Regions from separate parts of the Homo sapiens genome. Here regions 1 and 2 are each linked to region 3. The links are contacts of gene promoters, found by promoter capture Hi-C in blood cells and fetal thymus (Javierre and others, 2016). All regions are on one chromosome and are shown on one strand. Each heading gives the region's core, a stretch centred on a gene start or on the middle of the fragment in contact. The rest is flanking DNA. Distances are from core to core; before and after follow the strand shown. Region 1 overlaps ITGB4 (integrin subunit beta 4). Region 2 overlaps SAP30BP (SAP30 binding protein). Region 3 holds the start of CASKIN2 (CASK interacting protein 2).

Region 1 (3,908 bases), core at 739-3,238, 230 kb before region 3:
CTTTCCCAGCACAGACCGGGTTTCCCTCTGACCACCTGTGCTAGGTTCCACTGTCTGCTCTCTCTCAGGGGGCCCTGGCCTTGGACGGCCCACCTCTTCTGTGAGTGCTGGTGCCAGACCGCCCATCCACCTGTCGTGACCCTCAGCCCCCCGCCTTACCCTGTACCCCATTGGCTTGCCAGAAGGGGGCAGCCAGTTGAAATGGATCTTCCTGGACCCAGCGGCCTTAGCATTGGGGTTCTGCGGGGCGCCCAGGTCGCCGTGAGGGGGTGGCTGTGATGACAACATCTGACTCGTGAAGCTCCGGTCCAGTTCATCTAACGGGTCAGGTTGGGGCCGGGCAACCACTCAGATCCCCCTTCACCACCAGGGGGCGCCAGAGACCCACTTCAACACCCAGGGCGCTCTACCCAGCGCATTCAACTCAGACCTGCCCACCCGCGTCTCTGGAGACCTGGTGGTGCCCCATTGCTGCCACATAGAGCATCCTGCCAAGCTTGGCGGAGGACCCAGGAGGGTCTCTGGAGGAACAGAAGCGGGAGGGAGTTGGTCTGCCCCTTTCTCCCTTGGCAGCTCAGGGAACATTCCACATGAGAACATTTGCTCCCCACCCCATCTCCACACTGTACCCTGAGTATCTCCCTCCTCTCCCATCTTCCTGGCAGGCTTTCTCCCAGTTGGGAGGCTGAGGGCTGATAGGAACTAACTGGCCCACTCCTTCCTTCCACAAGCATCTGCATGTTAGTTGGAATTGAGGCTGAAGCCAAAGGGCCAGGGTCTGATGGGAGAATTCCTATTGTGTGGTGACAACAGCCTCTCTAGCTGTAGGGTTGCCAGATAAAATGCAGGATGCCTAGTTACATTTGAATTTCAGATAAACAACAAGATTATTTTTTCTTGGGGGACAGGATCTCATTCCATGGCCCAGGTGCTGTGCAGTGGTGCGATCACAGCTTGCTGCGGCCCAGACCCCCTGGGCTCAAGTGATCCTCCCACCTCAGTCTCCGGAATAGCTGGGACTGCAGGTGCACACCACTATGCCAAGCTAATTTGTTTATTTTTTGTAGAGACGAGGTCTCACTATGTTGCCCAGGCTGGTCTAGAACTCCTGGGCTCAAGTGATCCTCCCACCTTGGCCTCCCAAAATGCTGGGATTACAGGTGTGAGCCAGTATACCCAGCCCATTTTGCAAAAAAAAGGATAAGTATGTTCCAAATATTGCATGGGACATACTTATCCTACCAACGTGTATGTTGTTTACCTGAAATTCAGATTTACCTGGGCGTCCTGTGTTTGGATTTGCTAAGTCTGACAGACCTAGTTGAGAGACCCCCCAGTCTTCCCTCTCCTCCTGCTTAAGCCGACCCCCAGGCTCTGCCTACCTGGGTCCCTGATGATGATGGTGGTGGAGTGGGGCTGGCCCAGGTGGGCCCCAAACTTAGGGTTGCTGAGCTGGACGTGGAAACGGCGGACCTGGCGGCCCCGCAGGAGGGAGTCAACTTCTTGCAGCTCCAGGAGCTTCACCTGCAGCTCTTTCCAGGCCTCCCCAGGCTGGAACAGCAGCTCACCCTCCACGGGGATGTAGTCCTGGGAGTGGAGGGGGTCAGGGTCAGGGTCATGGCTGGGGGCTGAGGCAAGAGTCATGGCCACACGCTCCCTCCCAACCTCATGGACACTGCAGAGACCATCCCTGCTTGCTGGGTGGAGTACTTACACGAGGTTCAGGTTTTTGTGTTTTTTTTGTTTGTTTTTTTTTTTGAGGCGTAATCTCACTCTGTCACCTAGGCTGGAGTGCAGTGGCATGATCTCGGCTTACTGCAACCTCCACCTTCCAGGTTCAAATGATTCTCACACCTCATCTTCCTGAGTAGCTGGGATTACAGGCACCTGCCACCACGCCTAGCTAATTTTTGTATTTTTAGTAGAGATGGGGTTTCACTATGTTGGCCAGGCTGGTCTCGAACTCCTGACTTCAAGTGATCCTCCCACCTTGGCCTCCCAAAGTGCTGGGATTACAGACATGAGCCACCATGCCCAGCCACGTTTCTGTTTGTTTGTTTGTTTTTGAGACAGGGTCTCACTCTGTCACCCAGGCTGGAGTGTAGGGGCACAATCACAGCTCACTGAAGCCTTGACCTCCTGGGCTCAGGCCATCCTTCCCCTCAGCCGCCTGAGTAGCTGGGACTACAGGCGTGCACCACACCTGGCTATTTTTTTTTTTTTTTTTTTTGTAGAGGCACGGTTACCCTATGTTGCCTAGGCTGGTCTTGAACTCCCGGCCTCAAGCGATCCGCCCACCTTGGCCTCCCAAAGTGCTGGGATTACAGGCGTGAGCCACCCATCTTCCTTTCAGTGCCGTGGAGCATGCCTGAGCTTTCCAGGATAAGAACTGGGAGGAAAAAGAAAATCCTTCACATAGAAGACCACTAGGTGGCACTTCAGGGCAAGATTTCAATTCCAGGCGCAGCAGCCAGGGCGATGGCTGGGGAGGCAACCTCATGCCACCCAACTCAGAAAGTGAGACCCATAGTTGTAAAACAAACAAACAAAAAACAAACCAGGGAGCTGCCTGCAAGCAACCTACATGGATACTTCAAAAACGTCAGTGTCATTAGCCCGGCATGGTGGCCGGTGCCTGTAATCCCAGCTACTCGGGAGGCTAAGGCAGGAGAATTGCTTGAACCCGGGAGGCAGAGGTTGCAGTGAGGCACTGTACTCCAGCCTGGGTGACAGAGCGAGACCTTGTCTTAACAAAAGTCAGTGTCACGGAAGACAAAGCCAGGAAACTTTTCTAGATTAAAGGAGTCAAGACACGTGACAAAAGTCAATGCCAAATCCTTGATTAGTTCCTGCATTGGGGGGAAAAACGCTATAAAGGACATTATTGGGACATCCGAACAAGGGGACATTGGAATATGGACCTATTTTATTTTATTTTATATATTTTTTGGGATGGAGTTTTGCTCTTTTGCCCAGACTGGAGTGAAGTGGCGCAATCTTGGCTCACTGCAACCTCCACCCACTGGGTTCAAATGATTCTCCTGCCTCAGCCTCCCTAGTAGCTGAGATTACAGGCGTGTGCCACCATGCCCGGCTAATTTTTGTATTTTTAGTAGAGATGGGGTTTCTCCATGTTGGTCAGGCTGGTGTCAAACTCCTGACTTCAGGTGATCCACCTGCCTCAGCCTCCCAAAGTGCTGGGATTACAGGTGTGAGCCACCACGCCTGGCTGGAATATGGACTAATTTTAGGTACTAGTATAATCAATGTGAAGATACAGATGTCCACATCTCTATTTATATTTCTATGTTGCTATCTATATAGAAAGAGAGAGAAAGCAAATATTAGCAATCGGTGAATCTATGTAAAGGGTAAATGGGTGCTAGTTTTACTGTTCCTTCCATTTTTCTGTAAGTTGAAGTTTTTAAAAATAAAAAGGTGAGAAATTAAAATGTTTTAAAAAACAAATATCAAAGCTTTTTTTTTTTTTTTTTTTTTGAGACAGGGGTTTCACTCTGTCACCCAGGCTGGAGTGCAGTGGCACTATCTCGGCTAACTGCAACCTCCACCTACTGGGCTCTACCTCAGCCTCCCGAGTAGCTGGGACCACAGGTGCACACCACAACACCCAGATAATTTTCTGTATTTTTGGTACAGACAGGGTTTCGCCATGTTGGCCAGGCTGGTCTTGAACTCCTGATCTCAAGCGATCTGCCCGCCCTGGCCTCCCAAAGTGCTGGGATTACAGGCATGAGCCACTGTACCCAGCCTCAAAGCATCTTTATACAAGTGTAACAGGGTAGCCAGAAGGCAAGGCAAAAGGATCATGTTATCCTAGGAGTTTGAGACCAGCCTGGGCAACATGGCGAAACCCTATCTCTACTAAAAATATAAAATGGCCGGGCGCG
Region 2 (3,880 bases), core at 797-3,296, 160 kb before region 3:
AAATACTCAATCTTGCTACAATAATTTGACAAAAATAAAAATAAACACAATATAAAAACATTTTATATTTTTATAAAAAAATAACTCTGTCCATTAAAAAAAAAGTCCAAGCTTAAGCTCTGAGAGCTCAAGTTTGCTCTTTCGTTCTGCAGAGTAATTCTCAGTTGTCAGGGCTCGCCAGCAGCGCATCAACAAAGGCACACAAACAACCTGTTTGCAATGCTGCAAAAGGACTCGGGGCTCCTATCTCATACCACATCACATACCCTCCTAAATATCCTTCAATATCAGGAGGAATGCAACCCTTTGCTGCTTGTTTATGAAAAGCCACAGCATCTTCCTTTCAGATCCCAGAGTCTTGGAAGGGCAGCGAATATACCAGGAGCCCAGATGGGAAACACTTGTGCTCTGCAGCAATCCTGCAGAAGCTGCCCGTGTTCTGGGTCTGTGTTCAATAAAAAGAATATAAGATTTCAACCTGCAGTGCTGCCTGCATGCAATTGCTGGCAGGCTCCTCAAAGTTCTTCCTATAATCAGCAGTCAACAACAAATTCCTGGGAGATTAGCCCCTTAGGCAGTTTTCAGATATTTGATTCTGGTACTTCAAAAGATCAGGAGTAATGCAAGGACAGTGGGAAGGAGTTGAGAGGAGAGTGGGTGAGGGAATTACCGAGTCAGCTCTGCCCAATACAAATCCTCATCTAGACTGTGAGTCAGTAACTCCCGTCAACTGGGAGACCTGGTCTTCTTCAGGATGGGTATGAATAGCCACTGAGGCAGAGAACCACTCACCCGGCTGGGCCTCCAGAGGAGGCTAAGTGAGGACTTGTCAAGGCCCCCACTCTGGAACTCTTAAGACAATCTACTGCCACAGTTCCCAGACTACTACCTGGGGTAACCCAGCAAACTCACAAAGGTGCCACAGGATATTTAACAAAACTGTTACAGGAAACACAGCCTTACTCCACATGTCACATACCACACACACTTACACATATTATTTTTTTAAGCAGCTACTGAATTGTGAGGACAGTAATACTTAGTGTCTGAAGCTAATGACATAAGAAACAGAACCATTCGTTAGGCATTTTTTCTTCTTTTTTTCAGACAGGGTCTTGGTTTGCTGCCCAGGCTGGAGTGCAGTGGTACAGATCTCGGCTCACAGCAACCTCTGCCTCCCAGGATCAAATGATCCTCCCATCTCAGCCTCCCAAGTACCTGGGACTACAGGCACACACTACCATGCCTGGCTAACTTTTGTAGTTTCTGTAGAGACGGGTTTCACCATGTTGCCCAGGCTGGTCTCAAACTCCTGTGCTCAAGCAATTCTCCTGCCTCGGGCATCCCCAAGTGCTGGGATTACAGGCTTGAGCTACCACACTCAGCCATTAGGCATTTCTTTTTGTTCCAGAGGTCTGTGAAAAACTATGGAGACATGAAGGGCAGTGAGCCGAGAAATCGTGGCGCCTTCTAACCTACAGGATAAGGGCGTATAATCAGACTTAGTTACACTGAAAAGGCCAAGCACTGCTAACAAGTGCATTGTATACTGCGAAAAGCACCTTCATGTACATTCTCTCACGCCGCAGTCACAACCACCTTGCAAAGGGGGTCTCACGGCCCTGACTGCCCAAATGGAGCCGAGTGAAGCTTAAGTTACAGGCCTGTGGTTCCACAGCCAGAGGGAAGCCAGGCCAGGGCACAACCCAGGTCTTCGGACCACAAGTCCACCAGACCGGCTCTAAATTGTTTGTGAGCTCCACATTTTAGTACTACTTTAGGGATCTTAGAATTTTAAAAATGTCTTCTCTTAACTGGGGTTATACACGCCTTTTTAAAAAATGCCAGAACAATTCCCCCCAACCCCCACCTGATGCCACCTCCTTGACCCAGAAGACGGAATTTTGTTTTCACAGATGTACACTCCTGGGCTGGGAGGATTCTTTTCCTAGATCAGAGCGTGAGATCTAGATCTTTTCCTAGATCAGCACCTCAGGGAGGCCGGCGATCCCAGTCCCTCCCAGTCAGCTGGCAATAGGCTGCTCCATCTTTCTTGCTCCAGGCTCTCAACCCCCATGTTTGTTTTCAAAGGAAGGGTGTGTCAGGGACAGTGAGTGAATGGAAACAGCTTCATCCACAGGAACTGTAGGAGTGGAGAAAAAAATAAACAAGGGAAACCGTCCAGAGCAAACGAGGTAAAAATGGACAAAGGAGAGTGGCGAAAGGGATGTTCGGGTGCCAAAGGTAAACAGGGGGAGGAAGCACTTCAGCCACCAGGCACTCCTTTCCCGGAGTGAGGTGCTGGCCCCAGGACTGTCACGTCTGCTCTTTTTCCAGAACAGCAGTGCCACCTCCTGTTAATTTGCTGCTTACCGAAGAGACAAGATCAGAAACTTGAAGTTAGAGACGAAAAAATAATGGAACACAGGAAACAAAGCTTGTTTCCTATGCAACGCCCAGCCTCCTTCTCCAATCTCCTGTTCGCTAGTTTGGGGCAAACTCAGCACCTGCAGAGCCCAATCCCTGCTGCCCCAACCTAAAGGACAGGACCAAGTCTCTCTGCCCAGGTGGGCCAGAGTTAGTTCTTACTCACGCTCCCAAACATGGGACTCTGTGCTCACAGGTAACCCCAAACATCAGAGCAATAAAAACCAGGGCAATTCCAGTCTGTGCATATTTTAAAGTCATCAGATAACAAAGTTAGAGAATACTCAACTTTGCTTATGTATAATGCCCAAGTCCTTTCCTAGGGGGTTCCCAGGGAACTCCCTGGAGTTTAATCCAACCTCTACCAACAGATTTTATGATGTTGATGACAAGTCGTTTCTTACAACTTGCCTGAAGGCCGGGCATGGTGGTTCACACCTGTAATCCCAGCACTTTGGGAGGCCGAGGCAGGCAGATCACGAGGTCAGGAGATCGAGACCATCCTGGCTAACATGGTGAAACCCTGTCTCTACTAAAAATACAAAAAATTAGCCAGGTGTGGTGGCGGGCGCCTGTAGTCCCAGGTACTACTCGGGAGGCTGAGGCAGGAGAATGGCGTGAACCTGGGAGGCGGAGCTTGCAGTGAGCTGAGATGGAGCCACTGCACTCCAGCCTGGGCGACAGAACGAGACTCCGTCTCAAAAAAAAAAAAAAAAAAAACTTGCCTGAAAAACCTCTAGAAACAGGGAGCTCACTACCTTATGAAACAGCTCAACCCACTTGTGGCCGGAGATCACAAAAGGTCCTTCGTTATATGAAGGTAAACTTCTGTGGAATTCTGCGCGCGGCTTCAGGTCTGCCTCAGGCTGCCTTAGCCTTTCCCTCAGCAGACCTTCAAACACCAGAGCGCAACCCCGGCTCTTCCCGAGTCTTCTGTCTTCCAGCTCTACCTTTCCCTCAGGTGATGTGCTTTTGAGTCCCCTCACCTTTATGACTGCTCTTCTGAGAGCACTCCAGTTTAAAACATGGAATCTGCTCTTCCAAAACCGGCCGACAACATGGTATGACCAGCCTGGGAAGTGTGCACAGGTGGAACTGGAAGTGATGGTCAGTTCAGCCAATGCTACTGAACAAACACACACCAGACATACTGAGTCGAGTACAGCCGGCCCTCTGGATCTGTGGTTCTGAATCCATGGCCAGAACTCACCTCCAATTGTGTGTGTGTGTGTGTGTGTGTGTGTGTGTTTTAAATTGTGTCTGTGTTGAACGTGTCAGACTTTTTTGCTTGTCATTATTCCCTAAACAACACAGTCTAACAACTAGTTACACAGCCATTTACATTGTATCAAGTATCATAAGATGATTTAAAGTATCCAGAAGGATTCCCAAGGCTAAATGCAAATGCTACACCATTTTATATCAGAACCTTGAGCATCTGAGGAGGGGGTCC
Region 3 (3,958 bases), core at 1-2,500:
GCTTCTGCGACCGCGAGCGGGCGGCGAAGAGCTCCCGGGCGCTGGGGGAGAAGGGGACGCGGGGTCAGCGCCGCGCATCGGGGGCCGCCTGGCCGGGTCCCGGGCGCCGGTTTCCCTACCCGCGCTGGCCCCGCGCCCCCGACACCCACTCCGGCCGGGCCGCGCCGCACCTGAGCACGCGCCCCGCGGGAACCTCCACGGCCGCGGGCTCGGGCTCGGGCTCCATCCCGCCGCCGCCTGCCGCTGCGCGCGCCGCCACGCCCCGCCCACCGCCGGAGCTCCGCGCTGCCCTAGTGCCCGCCGATCCGCAATGCCGCGGCAGCCCCGCCCCCTGCACCGCCCCAGCCCGCTCTGCGCCCTCCTGATTGTCCCCGGTCCTAGCGCCCGCCCGGAAGCGCACCCCGACGCCGGGTCTGGGAGCTCAGCCCGCAGGTTGCTGGAGATGCAGAAGGCCCCTCTTTTGCCCCTAGCCCTCCTCGGGGCTTCTCTCCAGTAAAGCCTGAGGAGCCGGCGTCTGGAGTGCAGTGCGAATGGTCACACTTGTGACCGCCCCTCTGCAGCCTCGCGCTGCTTAGTCCCCACCGCCCGGGCTGGGCAAGGAGGGCAGAAGGGCTCAGGGAAGGACGAGCGGAGGGTGTGCAAATTCCGACTTTGCAGGCCGAAGGCCACCCGGGAACTGTCAGGAGCGGTCCGGGGAGGTTCGCCATTCCTTCGGTGTCTTCCGTCCGGTCCCTACGGCTGGGCTCCGAAGCCAGGTTTCGAGGGCCGGGGGCGGGAGGCGCTGTCCGGCCCACGACGGTGCTGAAGCGCCACCTCCGCCCGGCACGAGCGCCTCCTCGAGGCTGGGGTCCCCGCACTGGTGCCGTCCGCTAGGTGGTGCCATTGCCCGGCCGGCGGCTGCGGGTGGGCGACGCCGGCCGCAGACGGGGGGTACTGCAAGTGGGGTCCCGCGTCTTGGTTGCCAACCCCCTTCACATTACGTCTTCTCTCCCACCAGTCAGACCCGGGGTGTCTAGCCCTTGGGTCTAAGTCCAGAGCCCCAGGTCACCTCTGCCCCCGCGCCCCCCGCCCCTCCGTTTCACCTGGGCGCATGCGCTGATCCGGTCAGCGCCCCCGGTCCGGGCGGGCACGAGTTGGGGCGGGATCTGGCGCGGATGGGGGCGGAGCCGCCGGTGCTGACTGACAGCCTGACTGCGCGGCCGGGACGGTCCCTCCGTTCCCGATCCGGCGGGAGGGAGGGGGGAGGGGCGGGATTTCCTGCGGGAGGCGCCGAGCCGGCCTTGGAAAAGGAGAAGGAGAAAGGGGGGCAGGGGGGAGTGGGAGCCACCGTCCTGAGTGCCAGGGACCGAGCAGGGCCAGCCGGACCCCGGCGGGCGGCCGGGAGAGGTGAGGCTGCGGGGCCCGCGCTGGGGGTCAGCGCCCCTGGGGGCGGGCGCAAACTAACTTTTCTTGCGGGGTCGGCGGGCACCTCCATCTCCCCGCTCCTTCCGTCCTCCTCGCGCCCCTTTTTCCATCCTCCGCGTTTATACCTCGGGCGCTTGGCCCGCCCGGCTTCTCCCGCCGCTTTGTTCCCCGGTGGGCCTGGGCTGGGCTGGGCTGGGCTGGGGGGTTGCGAGGCGCTGGAGGGACATTCCGGGGGGCGGGGGAGCCAGCCCGACCCCAGGCACTGCCAAGGGCGCCCTCCGCCCGTGTCGGCCGCGGGCTCCGCGTGGGAGTGCCCCTGGGTTGGGCTTGGGACGTTTGGGGAGTGAGGGGTTCCCGGCCAGGGCCCCAGGCCTGCGCGGATCTCATGCCACAAGACTCTGGCAGTAAATTCGCTGCCACCGAGAAACTGACGTAAGCTTCTCTGCGGTGGAGTCCAGGGTCTGGGCTTCAGGTTCAGGCTTGGGGGGCTTGGGAGCCCCGTTTGTCAGCAGTGCCCCAGCTCTCTCTGTTCTCTGCCCAGCTGCTCCTCCACCCGACACAAGGGGCGAGGGCGGGTCAGCAACAGGTGCTGTGCAGCTTCCCTCTCTAGCAGGCAGAGCCCCCAGAAATGGGGGGCCAGAAGCACTTCATGCTCTCCGTTCACAAAGAGTCCTAGGACTAGGGCATCCAGCCATTAAAGCGAAGCCTTGAAGCCTCCGTAGGGAGGAATCTGGGGGCTGGTGCCTTTGACAGGGAGTGACCCCTGCCCGCCTGCCTGTGCCTGACCCTCCCGGCCCCACCTCCTGGCCCGCCAGTTGTCTGTGGGTGTCGGAGCCTCGGGCTGTGGAGAACAGGCTGCTGGCCCGGCCTGCCCCAGTATGTCATGCTGCCAGGGCCCCTCCTGCCCAAGGTTGAGGTACTGCCAGGTGCCCTGGGGCCCCAGTGACTCAGCCTCCCCCTCCCAGAATGCCACCTCCCCCCCACCAATACTCCTCTCATGCATAGCAGCTTCCTCCCCACTTTCAGTGGCTCAGCATCACCATCGACTCCGAGGGGAGCCAGGGTGGCTTGGGGGCTCCCTGGAGGTCTTGTCCTGCTCATCCTCTGCACTCCACTTCTGGGACCCTTGCAGGCTGTGGCCCAGCATTCGACAGAGGCCCCGTGCTTTTTCCAGAGCCCTGAGACCAGTGCACCGCTGCTGCCTGAGGCCCAAGGGAATGCTGGCTGCTCTCTGGGTGGGCACTGGTGTTCCACAGCCAAGCCGGGAAGATTGGTGTGCCCAGTCCCAGCCCATCCTGGAGCTGTCGGAAGCCACAAGCTGATATCCATCCAGATTTCCATGTAGCCTTCACCCCCTCAAAGATTAGCTTTCCTTCGTGTGGTGGCAGTTCACGGAGCACCTTTGGGAGTATCCCTCAGTACCTGACGAGGAGCCCACTGCCTGGGACACCTGACTTGCTCCCCCGGAACCGGGAGCCCTCCAAGGGGCTGTGGCATGGCGCCCTGACGCCCCAGCTTGGACCCGTTGCCTGCCTTTGCCCTGGACTCCTGAGTGTAGAGCTCAGCCCAGGAGCCAGTATGGGTCGTGAACAGGACCTGATCCTCGCCGTCAAGAATGGAGATGTGACCGGTGTGCAGAAACTGGTGGCGAAGGTCAAGGCCACAAAGACAAGTGAGTACCGGGTGGGACGAGCATCCCGCTGAGGCCGAGCGCTCAGTTCACAGAGGCTTGGTGGGTGGGGGTGGGTCACTGTGATCTGCATATTTGAGGAGGGTGGACTGTCTTGTTCTCAGTAAGAAGTGCCTCTGTGTGAGAGAGCCAGAGAGAAAGTTGGGTCCCCCTTGCTGTGTGTCCTTAGGCAAGTCACTTAACCTCTCTGGGCTGCAGTTTCCTGGCCTGCAAAATTAGAGGGTTGAAGTACGTTCATTCACATTGTTATTGAGTGCCTATAGCTTGTCACCCAGGCTGGAGTACAGTGGCAGGATCTCGGCTCACGGGAACCTCCGCCTTCTGGGTTCAAGCCATTCTCCTGCCTCAGCCTCCCTAGTAGCTGGGATTACAGGTGTGTGCCACCATGCCCGGCTAATTTTTTTTTATATTTTTGGTAGAGATGGGGGTTTCACCATGTTGACCAGACTGGTCTCGAACTCCAGACCTCAAGTGATCCACCCACCTAGGTAGGCCTCCTAGTACTAGGATTACAGGCGTGAGTCACTGTGCCTGGCTCAGGCTCTGTTCTAAGCACTGGATCATAGTAGTGAACAAAACAGACCCAAATTCCTGTCTTCGTGGAGTTGCCTTCTAGCAGATGGTCTTTCTGATGTGTTCTTTGGAGCCATGAGATTTCTGACAGTGGGTTAGAGAAGACTGAATAGATAGAACTTCATCCCTACCCCCAACCTCAAACGCACACATTTCAACCAGAGCACCTCTATGTTCGTGTCTTAAGAGGATATCTATAAGATAGCTGTTTTTTTTTTTTGAGACGGAGTCTTGCTTTCTCACCCGGCCTGGAGTGCAGTGGCATGATCTCAGCGCACTGCAGCCTCTGCC

What was found. Contacts are between HindIII fragments. The CHiCAGO score rates a contact against its expected background, and 5 or more counts as called.
Region 1: a fragment that was not itself captured here is called in contact with the fragment with the promoter of CASKIN2 in region 3 in 5 of 17 cell types (endothelial precursors, erythroblasts, M0 macrophages and 2 more); the score reaches 11.9 in endothelial precursors.
Region 2: a fragment that was not itself captured here is called in contact with the fragment with the promoter of CASKIN2 in region 3 in 1 of 17 cell types (endothelial precursors); the score reaches 5.5 in endothelial precursors.

What each region holds. Positions count from the first base shown.
Region 1 is chr17:75,746,520-75,750,427 of GRCh38, reverse strand. It overlaps ITGB4 (integrin subunit beta 4), which reads right to left. Exons shown (of 40, transcript NM_000213.5): 27 at 1,383-1,587; 28 at 160-317. Among named protein-coding and RNA genes, the nearest start is that of GALK1, 17 kb to the left of the region's middle. The HindIII fragment of the contact is 2,980 bases long and covers 499-3,478 here.
Region 2 is chr17:75,678,259-75,682,138 of GRCh38, reverse strand. All of the region lies in intron 3 of SAP30BP (SAP30 binding protein), which reads right to left. Among named protein-coding and RNA genes, the nearest start is that of SAP30BP-AS1, 4.6 kb to the left of the region's middle. The HindIII fragment of the contact is 787 bases long and covers 1,653-2,439 here.
Region 3 is chr17:75,512,829-75,516,786 of GRCh38, reverse strand. CASKIN2 (CASK interacting protein 2) reads left to right here and starts at 1,250. Exons shown (of 20, transcript NM_020753.5): 1 at 1,250-1,386; 2 at 2,579-3,076. The coding sequence starts at 2,983. TSEN54 (tRNA splicing endonuclease subunit 54) reads right to left here and starts at 259. Exons shown (of 11, transcript NM_207346.3): 1 at 171-259; 2 at 1-41. The coding sequence starts at 226. RefSeq lists silencers at 21-400, 791-1,400 and enhancers at 185-479, 1,574-2,140. The HindIII fragment of the contact is 2,660 bases long and covers 1-1,843 here.